Regions from separate parts of the Homo sapiens genome. Here region 1 is linked to region 2. The links are contacts of gene promoters, found by promoter capture Hi-C in human tissues and cell types (Jung and others, 2019). All regions are on one chromosome and are shown on one strand. The core of a region is centred on a gene start or on the middle of the fragment in contact, and the rest is flanking DNA. Distances in the headings are between cores, read along the strand shown. Region 1 overlaps SNCA (synuclein alpha). Region 2 holds the start of SNCA (synuclein alpha).

Region 1 (6,292 bases), core at 3,676-6,175, 41 kb after region 2:
GAGGGATTTTTTTAAACATCTACAATGCACAGGACATCCTTCCACAACAAAGTATCCAGTTAAAAAATGTCATTACTGCCAAGGTTGAAAAACCGTGGTGTAGTCAGTACAATTCATCTTCTCCAGGCACAGTGCAGGAGTGGGGTGGAGTGTCTGAAGGGGAAGAAGGAAGAAACCAGCACACCCCACAAAAGTAACCAATGCAAATACCAAATAGGAAAAGACAGCACTTAAAATACAAAAGTCTCAGGAATATATCTGATAGTGTTTTATGGAATTTATTAAAATTTAGCCTGGAGTGAGTAATATTTAGCAAGCCAGGTTTGTCTTTAGAGAAATCCTTGTGGGGTTTATACAAGGATTTATTAACAAAGGGCACACACAATACTCATATTACAGTCAGTCTGGTTATGTAAAACATGGGCAAGAATGTAATAGGACAATGTGATGTATTCACAAAGGATTTTAGGACTACACAGATAATCCTCTAATGCTTTCACTTACGTACTATGAAAGGCTATAGTTTGCATAGTGATATAGCCACGTAAGATAGTAAACTTGACATTCATGCAGCTATACATGTTTGCACACACCAGGATGCATGCCCTTTCTACCTGGTTGATTTTTTATTCTTTTATTAATCTCTAATTTATTCCCCAGAACACTCTCCATAAAAACTTTCTCACAACTTAAATCTTTAATCTATTGTGTGGATTTCTGACTCATTCTCCAAGCTTTTCCTCTTCCCTCCGCAATGCCTTATAGTCTTATGACTATTTATCCCTTTGCCTACATTTCTAGCCAGATCTCTTGCCTGATACACACTCTCATATTTCTCTTTGCACGCTACACATTTTTATTTAGATATCACACTACTACTTTGATTTCAACAGGTCTCAGTTTAACTTAATTTTTCCTTCAAGCAAGGAGTCCCTTCATATCAGTTATCACCATTGGCACCAGAATTTTTCTTATGACTTCCCATGACCTACAATATAAACCATATAAATCACTGATGCCTCCATAGTTCCCTCCCTCTCAAATTTAGCCATAAGATGATTTTAGGATCCTTGTTTTTTCCAATCTCTCTTTCATTCTCTCCCCCATCTCTTCCATTATGAAGGTTTGGATAGGACACAACTCATGCCTAGATTAGTGCAATAGATGCTGAGCCTGTGCAGCGGTAGTTTAGCTTTCTCTCCTGGTTAACTTTAACTGCCACATATATCACTTCACACGTCATTTTTCATTCAAACGTATTTAACTGGCTCTTCATTCATAAGAAGCTGGAATTTGTCGTTTGACTGATATTTTAAAGATTTTATATTTTTTCTCCATCCTCGTTCTAATGTTGTATCTTGTGTCATTTGTTCATTCATAAACTTAAGACTTAGCTAACCACTGAGCATCCAGGAAATTCAGTATCTATCATGTGAATTCTCTAATACTGGTTGATCCATTGTCACCAGAGCATAGCAGGCTTCTCCTGCCTTTATGTATGTTTGTCATATAGTTCATGCCTAAAATTCTTTCTTAAATCTTAAATTCCTAAGATACACACTTTTGCCCAAGATCACAGTAATCTCTGCCATAATCTCTGCTGGAATCTGTTCACTGTGTTGCTCCTGCTAAACTTCTTACAGATGACTTTTTTTCTTTTTGGTTTCCCTGGTATCTAGTATAATTTCTTATATAGGTACTCAATAAATGTTTCCTGTTGATCTCTACACCTACTCTGTACAATACCATAGTGACTAGACACATGTTGCTATCAAGCATTTCAAAAGTAGCTAGCCTGAGTTGAGATATAGGGGTAAAATACACAACAGATTTCAAGACATATTATGAAAAAAACCCATAAAATTTCTCAGTAATTTTTTTATAGATTACATGTAGAAACTATAACATTTTGAATAAGTTGTATCAAATAAAATATAAAATTCACCCGGTTCTTTTTAATTTGTTAAATGTGGTGGCTAGAAAATTTAAAATTACATAATTGGCTCACAGAATAATTATAATGGATGGTATTGCTTTAGATCAAGTTTGTCTAACCCGTGGCCCATGGGCCACAAGCGGCCCAGGATGGTTTTGAATGAGATCCAACACAAATGTGTGAACTTCCTTAAAACATTATGAATTTTTTGTTTGTTTTGTTTTTGTTTTTTTCTCATCAGCTATCATGAGTGTTAGTGTATTTTATGCATGGCTCAAGACAATTAATTCTTCTTCAAATATGGCCCAGGGAAGCCAAAAGACTGGACAACCCTGCTTTAGATAGTAAAGCATATGAGTAGTTAATGTGTACTATAAGCAGTGTGATCTGATAGACTATTTAATGTTGTTTGATGGTACATTATTCAAGTCGATTATTATGTCTACCTATGCAGTTTAACGACGGTAATGAGAGAGGGCAGCTTGATTACAGGTCTTATCTTTTGACTAACTTGCTAGGCCACCTGAGAAGGACCCAAATTATCTGAATGCTTAACTCAACTAATTTGTATTCACTTGAAGAATTTCAAGGATGTTTATATGCCATCAACTTGCTTTAAATTTTTTCTCTCAGTGAAAATTTTTCTTAAAATGAGTATGTGGTATTCAAATTTATCCTTGTTTTCTATGATTATCTTTTCATAGCACTGTGGTTTCCAGGAACCTTTTTTTTTTTGAGATGCATTCTACATGTAACTATTGCACAGTTTGCATGTAGTAAGGTTCATTATTCTTCTACTTTTCCAAACACCTGGCATGTTTACTTGAGGTTGGTACACCTTGTATCCCAGATTTTGCTGTTTTTAACTTAAATATTGAATATTTTGATTAAACATTATGGAAAGTTTAAATGGGTCAAGAAAAATAGCTTTTCTTCCCATGAAGAACAATACGGCATAGGAGTTAAGAGCATAGATTTAAAGTCAGAAAACCTGTGCTGCCTACTTGTGCAAAGTCACTTACATGCTGTACTTCTGTTTCTTCATCTGTAAGTTCTACCCCTAGGTATTTACTTAAGATTAATGGAAGCATATGTTCATACAATGACTTGTACAGAATTATTCACGATAGCATTACTCTTAATAGCTCTAACTGGTAACAACACAATAATCAATCAACAATTGTGCTGTATTCATACAGCAGAATACTACTTAGCAACAAAAATGGAATGGACTACTGATAACCTCAACAACATGGATGAATCTCAAAACTATCATGCTGTGTGATGCCAGGCACAAATCAGTACATACTATAATTCCAGAAAAGACAAATGTCATCCATGGTAACAACAAGATCCATGCTTGCTGGAGGTAGAGGCATCAGTTCAGTCATTCAGGAAGCTGATTCCAAGATGGTGTTAGAATTACAACCATCCACAAGAGATTTATTGCAGGCAATAGCTATGAAAGGTAGAAAGAGAACAGGAGAAAAACCAGGCAAGGAAAAACCACAATGTAGTTGTGATATCACTTCAAAGGGAGGCAGAAGGAAGGAGAATTGGGTAGGAATAGCCACAGATTACAGTGCAGTTACAAGAAAGTCTTGGCTTCCAACAAAGGTTACTTGTTGAGGAGTCATGCATTAGGCAGACATGTCTGGGCTGTAGTTTCCTTGCTGCTCCCAGTCATTGGCTGGAGGCCAGTCTGGGTTCCTGTGCTGTGGTGGATCCCATTGCTGCTGCAGCAGGAGGCCAATAGCACTCCTGGCAGCTAATTGGAGAGAAAAGATCCAAGAGGTGTACCTTCATGGCTACCCCCATGGGGCTGGGGTGGAGGTGGAGGAGAAGGAGAAGGAATTAACTAGAAAAAGGCACAAAGGAAAATTGGGGAAAATAATGAAGATATATGATTTCTCAATTGTGGTGGTCGTTACATGGGTTTATTAATGCATCAAAACTCAAGAAATGTACATTTAAAATGAGTGCATATGATTGTAAGTGAATTATACCTCAATATAGTTAATTTTTTAAAAATCATAGATTTCTTTATATTTAATGCATGAACATAAACCTAAGACACTCCTCCACTCCAAAACTTAATTACCTTGTGATCAGCAGAGCAGAAGGTACTTTGTGATATATAGGTAGAGAAGATGAAGTCTTGTGACATTTAACAAGGGACAGGAAAATGGACCTTGTCCTAAGTTACCAAACTGCAAAAATATCACCTACAAAGGCTATTCATAACATACATTTTCAAGGGGGTTACAATATTTGCCTACTATAAAATTTTGGATCTGTAAAGGGGTTAAATTATTTGTGCAGGGGAATAAACATCAAAGAAACATTAAGAGGTCCAGAGAAGTAAAATAGGAAGGGTCTTTTGGCTAGAGGAGATATTTAACTTTCAGAACATGTGGAATTAAGTTGTATTGATTATGATCTGATCTTCTTCCCCCTAAATTTGATCCTCTTCCTGTAATCTATTGTTTCCATCATCTTCAACTCTTCCCTTTCCCTCTCCCTTGTCCCTCAGTTCTAGTCAATCACAAAGTCCTACAGTTTCACTTTCTGTATACCTTATTTCTGGAATTCATCTCTAGACTTCAAAATATATATATATATATTTTTTTTTTTGAGATGGAGTCTCGCTCTGTTGCCCAGGCTGGAGTGCCGTGGTGCAATCTCAGCTCACAGCAGCCTCTGCCACCCAGGTTCAAGCGATTCTCCTAGTTCAGCCTCCTGAGTAGCTGGGATTACAGGCATCTGCCACCACGCCTGGTTAATTTTTGTATTTTCAGTAGAGATGGGGTTTCGCCATGTTGGCCAGGCTGATCTCGAACTCCTGACCTCAGGTGATCCACCCGCGTCAGCCTCCCAAAGTGCTGGAATTACAGGTGTGAGCCACTGCTTCCAGCCCAAAATATCTTAAGTAGATAATTGCACGACTAATCTCTGCTTTTCTCTCCCAGCAGCCTTCCAAATTCATGTCTCACAGCTGACAGAGTTGTTCCTGCCTTCAGATTCATGACCTGGCTCTGTGTTCTAGCTCAGGCTTTCTCTCTCATATCACCTCTTGCCTCTCTGTTGCCCCCATATTTTCCCCTCTGGTTGGTTGGTGCTCCTTTGGAACCCTCTGCATATCTTTTCAAGAATATTATGACTTATTATGCCTATAAACTTTGTTTAATTATTTATTTCTAAAATTTGACAGGGAACTTTCCGAAGGCAGGTATTGTGTCTTTCTCATTTAAAAGCAAATTCTCGCCTGGCATGGTGGCTCATGCCTGTAATCCCACACTTTGGGAGGCTAAGGTGGACAGATCACTTGAGCCTAGGAGTTCATGACCAGCCTGGGCAACACAGTTAGACCAAAAAAAAAATATATACGAAAATTAGCCTGGCATGGTGGCACACCCCCGTAGTCTCAGCTAGTCTGGTAGCTGAGGTGAGAGGATCACTTGAGCCTGGATGGTTGAGGTTGCAGTGAGCTGTGATTGTATCACTGCACTCCAGCCTGGGCAAAAAAGTAAGATCCTGTCTCAAAAAAAAAAAAAAAAAAAATTAGTGAATCCTCAGTGTTTAAAAAGTCCATAAACATACTAAACATAGAAGACCTCCAAATGAAATTAATCAATTATTATTTAGTGGGTTGCTTCTCTTTTGTTTTAATATAGTTTTAACAAAGAGTAAAAGTTATGATCTTTTTATATGTAAAATAAATAATGCCGGGTTTGACATAAATTTTAGGAAAACTAGAGACGCTACTTCCTAAAAATTTTCTTTCTATAATCTTCCTAAATATTTTTCCATAAAGTACAAAATAATAGAAAAAAATTAAGAGATTGAGTATCCTTTCAGGAAGTGATATGACAAATAGGGTTCGAGAACTATTTGAATTCTCACCACTTTTCATAAGGGCAGATCTCAAGTTAAATTTTTCTATTCGAATTTAAATGACTTTCACTGGAATACCATTACAGAAAAGCTTCTGTGTTTAGATGGCAATATGGAGTTTCTTTTCTTGGAATATTAATTGAAGGAGAAGTCTTAATTTTTTAAGTCTATATCTCCGTATATATTTGAACCTATTTTATATGTTAGTCCTTCTCTTTAGTAACCTTCATCCACAGTGAACAAGATTTACCCTTACCTTTAAGCAGTAGCGGCTACTTTATGTGAAGTGAACAGCTGCTTTTTTTATCTGCATCTAGACATCAAGTAGTCCAGAGTCCTTTCTAACACCCTAGCAATAGAAGTAAGAATATTTTGACCATTCCATGACTTGATGATACTTCTAGTAATAATACTGTATTATTAAAAACAAACAAACCTTTGTGCAGTGGTAATTGAAGCAGT
Region 2 (6,114 bases), core at 94-2,593:
ATTTGATTTTACTCAAATTTCAGAACCCAAATTAGCGCAAGAATCAGACAAAGCATAACTTTCTATAAATATAAAAACAATTAAAAAAAAAACATACAGCAAAAACGAGTTGTTGTTTCCCCCCTCCTCTTCCAGTGCTTAACTAATCTTCCGAATCCAGGCACAGAAAGCAAAGGCTTTCTGCTAGTGGGAGGAGCTTGCTTCTCCATTCTGGTGTGATCCAGGAACAGCTGTCTTCCAGCTCTGAAAGAGGTGAAAATGTGTTAAGCGATGCAAAAATTGTCTTGAAGTTCGCGTGTGTATGTCTGTGTGCATGTGCGTGTGGTGGGTGGGGGGAGAGAAAAGGGGGTGTCAATTCTGAGGGCAACGAGAATCAGAAGTCAGAAAGGTGAGTGGTGTGTAGCATCTCCCTTTCAGAAGGGGCTGAAGAAGAAATTGGATATGATGGTCCGGTAGGCTAAATCACGCTGGATTTGTCTCCCAGATAAAGGGAGGTCTGCAAAGTAAGTCCCATTTCTAGAGCGAAAAGCCTTAGGACCGCTTGTTTTAGACGGCTGGGGAATATTTATTCCTTGTTCCACTGATGGGAAAATCAGCGTCTGGCAGGCGCTGATTGGTGGAAAGGAAAATGGTGATAGTGGCGTGGAAAGAGGATTTGCTGAGCCTTCTCCTGCCTCCTCAACCTGTGACTCTTCCTTAGTAGTCTCCCTTTCACCCTCAGGACCCTTTCCGGCTCTTCCTAGATTAAGAGCAAACGAAAACCTTGAAGATATTTGAACTAAAGCGACCCCTAACGTTGTAACCTGTGACCGTGATTAAATTTCAGCGATGCGAGGGCAAAGCGCTCTCGGCGGTGCGGTGTGAGCCACCTCCCGGCGCTGCCTGTCTCCTCCAGCAGCTCCCCAAGGGATAGGCTCTGCCCTTGGTGGTCGACCCTCAGGCCCTCGGCTCTCCCAGGGCGACTCTGACGAGGGGTAGGGGGTGGTCCCCGGGAGGACCCAGAGGAAAGGCGGGGACAAGAAGGGAGGGGAAGGGGAAAGAGGAAGAGGCATCATCCCTAGCCCAACCGCTCCCGATCTCCACAAGAGTGCTCGTGACCCTAAACTTAACGTGAGGCGCAAAAGCGCCCCCACTTTCCCGCCTTGCGCGGCCAGGCAGGCGGCTGGAGTTGATGGCTCACCCCGCGCCCCCTGCCCCATCCCCATCCGAGATAGGGACGAGGAGCACGCTGCAGGGAAAGCAGCGAGCGCCGGGAGAGGGGCGGGCAGAAGCGCTGACAAATCAGCGGTGGGGGCGGAGAGCCGAGGAGAAGGAGAAGGAGGAGGACTAGGAGGAGGAGGACGGCGACGACCAGAAGGGGCCCAAGAGAGGGGGCGAGCGACCGAGCGCCGCGACGCGGAAGTGAGGTGCGTGCGGGCTGCAGCGCAGACCCCGGCCCGGCCCCTCCGAGAGCGTCCTGGGCGCTCCCTCACGCCTTGCCTTCAAGCCTTCTGCCTTTCCACCCTCGTGAGCGGAGAACTGGGAGTGGCCATTCGACGACAGGTTAGCGGGTTTGCCTCCCACTCCCCCAGCCTCGCGTCGCCGGCTCACAGCGGCCTCCTCTGGGGACAGTCCCCCCCGGGTGCCGCCTCCGCCCTTCCTGTGCGCTCCTTTTCCTTCTTCTTTCCTATTAAATATTATTTGGGAATTGTTTAAATTTTTTTTTTAAAAAAAGAGAGAGGCGGGGAGGAGTCGGAGTTGTGGAGAAGCAGAGGGACTCAGGTAAGTACCTGTGGATCTAAACGGGCGTCTTTGGAAATCCTGGAGAACGCCGGATGGGAGACGAATGGTCGTGGGCACCGGGAGGGGGTGGTGCTGCCATGAGGACCCGCTGGGCCAGGTCTCTGGGAGGTGAGTACTTGTCCCTTTGGGGAGCCTAAGGAAAGAGACTTGACCTGGCTTTCGTCCTGCTTCTGATATTCCCTTCTCCACAAGGGCTGAGAGATTAGGCTGCTTCTCCGGGATCCGCTTTTCCCCGGGAAACGCGAGGATGCTCCATGGAGCGTGAGCATCCAACTTTTCTCTCACATAAAATCTGTCTGCCCGCTCTCTTGGTTTTTCTCTGTAAAGTAAGCAAGCTGCGTTTGGCAAATAATGAAATGGAAGTGCAAGGAGGCCAAGTCAACAGGTGGTAACGGGTTAACAAGTGCTGGCGCGGGGTCCGCTAGGGTGGAGGCTGAGAACGCCCCCTCGGGTGGCTGGCGCGGGGTTGGAGACGGCCCGCGAGTGTGAGCGGCGCCTGCTCAGGGTAGATAGCTGAGGGCGGGGGTGGATGTTGGATGGATTAGAACCATCACACTTGGGCCTGCTGTTTGCCTGAGTTTGAACCACACCCCGAGTGAGCAGTTAGTTCTGTTGCCTACGCCTTTCCACCATCAACCTGTTAGCCTTCTTCTGGGATTCATGTTAAGGATACCCCTGACCCTAAGCCTCCAGCTTCCATGCTTCTAACTCATACTGTTACCCTTTAGACCCCGGGAATTTAAAAAAGGGGTTAATCTTTTCATGCAACTCCACTTCTGAAATGCAGTAATAACAACTCAGAGGATTCATCCTAATCCGTGGTTAGGTGGCTAGACTTTTACTAGCCAAGATGGATGGGAGATGCTAAATTTTTAATGCCAGAGCTAAAAATGTCTGCTTTGTCCAATGGTTAAATGAGTGTACACTTAAAAGAGTCTCACACTTTGGAGGGTTTCTCATGATTTTTCAGTGTTTTTTGTTTATTTTTCCCCGAAAGTTCTCATTCAAAGTGTATTTTATGTTTTCCAGTGTGGTGTAAAGGAATTCATTAGCCATGGATGTATTCATGAAAGGACTTTCAAAGGCCAAGGAGGGAGTTGTGGCTGCTGCTGAGAAAACCAAACAGGGTGTGGCAGAAGCAGCAGGAAAGACAAAAGAGGGTGTTCTCTATGTAGGTAGGTAAACCCCAAATGTCAGTTTGGTGCTTGTTCATGAGTGATGGGTTAGGATAATCAATACTCTAAATGCTGGTAGTTCTCTCTCTTGATTCATTTTTGCATCATTGCTTGTCAAAAAGGTGGACTGAGTCAGAGGTATGTGTAGGTAGGTGAATGTGAACGTGTGTATTTGAGCTAATAGTAAAAAATGCGACTGTTTGCTTTTCCAGATTTTTAATTTTGCCCTAATATTTATGACTTTTTAAAAATGAATGTTTCTGTACCTACATAATTCTATTTCAGAGAACAGTTTTAAAAACTCATAGTCTTTTAAAAAATAATCAAGAATATTCTTAAGAATCAAAATCATTGATGGATCTGTGATTTCTTTTACCATCATGAAAAATGTTTGTCAATTTTAATCCATTCTGATTTTTAAAATATGACTTTGATATGCCCCTGTGATGTGTATAAAGAGACCTATTTGTGGCCCTAAAATGGAAAGAACAGATTAGTCTTTGATAGAGTTACTTCATGTGATCATTTGGTCTCTGTGAACACTGAGGACAGAGAAAAGTGCTTGAGGGCTGCTACTAATCTCTCAGAAACATTTGTATAGTTCATCCATCAAATGACACACATACTAAAAGAATAAAGAAATTGATGCTTATTACCTACTTGTTCCTAAAGTTCCACCTTGGGGTATACACCCAAACTCTGACTCTCTTTTCTGTAACTTGAACTGTATTCAATTGAGTGTTATTTTACAAACCACTTTGAATTCCTTGGAAAAGAATAGACACACACTCTCATCCACAGGCATAGACACACACACTCAACACAGACACATTGCCCATTCTTCCTCTCTTCTTTCTCCTCTGAGCTTTTTCACATTCTCTGGTGGCAACTATAGCAGTAAGAGTCACAGGATGAACAGTCAGGTGGAGGATGACCACATTGAGTTGCCTAGCTGAAACATGTGCTCCGTCTATGTCTGCAAAGTGAAAGAAAGCTACACTATCTCTTCAACATAGATCAGTGGGGGAAATTTTATACTTGGGATGATTTATATGAATGCATCTCATCAAAGTTCACAACACATTTTTTTTTCAGTTTTTTATTTTCAGTTTTTAGAGTCAGGGCCTTGCTCTGTCGCCCAGGCTGGACTGCAGTGATGCTATCATAGCTCACTGCATCCTTGAATTCCTGGGCTCAAGTCATGCCCCCACCTCAGCCTCCTGAGTAGCCAGGATTATAGGCATGTGCCACTGCCTCATTATTTAGACTTTTCTTATGTTGACTTAATCTTCCCACAAATCTTCAATTAAATTACTTTTTTTCTACCTTAAAACATATTTTCAGAAAGTCATTGAAATAGGGTGTTACAAGAGGAAAAAATTGATGAGTTAATTTTAAATATTTTATGAAGTGTGAATTATACCTTTTTAGATGGAATTTGGAATACTGAATCAGTGACATGCAGTTTATCAATATCTTTCCGTTTGTCCTCAGATTTCCAAGTTCTGCAAGCACAAGTTTCTTTGACTTAGTTACCTTTTAACTGTTCATTGAAATCATTTTCAATGTCTCTCATGGCATTTAACACATAGCACATTCTATAAATTTTTTATTGGTTACATTCTGAGTTCTAATTGAGAGTTGAACTTACACACAGAATTTAAGATAAAAAATGACCATGTGAAGACACAATAGTATAGTCCAGGGATTGGCAAAATTTTGGGTAAGGAATCAGATAGCACGTATTTTAAGCCATGAGATCTATGTCTTGGCCAGGTGCCGTGGCTCAGGTCTTTAATCCCAGCACTTTGAGAGCCCGAGGCTGGTGGATCACTTGAGCCCAGGGGTTTGAGACCAGCCTGGGCCACATGGTGAAACCCTGTGTCTACAAACAACGCAAAAATTAGCCGGGTATGGTAGCATGCATGTGTATTGCCAGCTACCCAGGAGGCTGAGGTAGGAGGATGGCTTGAGCCATACAGCTCACTGCAGAGGTTGCAGTGAGCTGAGATCGAGCCACTGCACTCCAGCCTGGGTGGCAGAGTGATACCCTGTCTAAAAAAAAGAAAAAAAAATCTATGTCTCAATTCTGCTGTTGAAGTGTGAAGGTAGTCATAAACAATAACTAGTGTGGCTGTGTCCCAATAAAACTTCATTTATCAAAACAGGTGGTGGGCTGGAATTGTCTTGTATGTTGTAGCTTGCTGACTACTGATAGAGTGGAAAGAACATGCACTAATCACACAAACCAAAGTTTTAGTTGAGACTACATCACTTATCACCTTTAGGGTCTTGGGGAAGCGTACTTAACATCTCTGAGCATCACTTCCCTGATTAGTAAAAAATATGATTTAGAAAACTGCAACTACCTTGCAGTTTTTGTGGGAATGTCATAATAAGACAGGACATATGAATAATTGAGCACACTTTTATATATAGGAACCATGGTTATTATTATCAAATAAACTCTCCAACGGAATAATTACTTTGCCAACACGTTTTCCATTTATTCTTTTATCCTTCATTACATAACTAGTTTGAAAGATTGGAGGCGACCAAAGACCATTTTATAATTTCACTTATGGCTGAAGATGTTTGGTAGAAGCCTCATAAGAAAAGTAATCTCATTCCTTTATAAGAATATACTTTTAACAACTACTTTTTAACTCATTGAAGAACTACCTTAATGATCAGTGTTATTTTTATGGGTTTTGTTCCCTCCATTTTTGTTATCTGCGTACACCAATTTTCAATCAACATACTTCAATTTAATAGACAAAAATTTCTTCAAATGACTCAGAAATTAATTAGATCTAAATCCAAAAGCAGAAAGATTTAATTATCTTTATATAATGCTCAGTAATATAAATGCAATAAATACAAGAAAATGATGATCTTTGAGTGTCTTCCAATGCCACTCTGCTCAATAAGCAGCAGTGGCCATCAGTGAAATTGATAGCAAATTCTCAAGTCAAAATGTGCTTCACCTCACTAAGCTGACAAAGTCAACATAACATGCACAACAGGGATAACTGAGTTCTCAAAACTCTCAGGTATTACTTCTGACCTTCTTCTCCACTCTGTGCTCTTTTGAGGTTGGGAAGACAAGATAGGGTGTGTGTGGGACACCTCCGCTCAGGGAAGCCATCAGCTCTGG

The links. Contacts are between HindIII fragments. The study calls those that stand out against the background at their distance.
Region 1: a contact is called between a fragment that was not itself captured here and the fragment with the promoter of SNCA in region 2, in 1 of the 25 tissues and cell types used here (hippocampus).

The regions. Positions count from the first base shown.
Region 1 is chr4:89,794,553-89,800,844 of GRCh38, reverse strand. All of the region lies in intron 4 of SNCA (synuclein alpha), which reads left to right. Among named protein-coding and RNA genes, the nearest start is that of SNCA-AS1, 39 kb to the left of the region's middle. The HindIII fragment of the contact is 3,193 bases long and covers 3,329-6,292 here.
Region 2 is chr4:89,832,390-89,838,503 of GRCh38, reverse strand. SNCA (synuclein alpha) reads left to right here and starts at 1,343. Exons shown (of 6, transcript NM_000345.4): 1 at 1,343-1,542; 2 at 2,812-2,957. The coding sequence starts at 2,837. It overlaps SNCA-AS1 (SNCA antisense RNA 1), which reads right to left and starts at 2,103. Exons shown (of 4, transcript NR_045481.1): 1 at 1,770-2,103; 2 at 98-243. The HindIII fragment of the contact is 14,325 bases long and covers 1-6,114 here.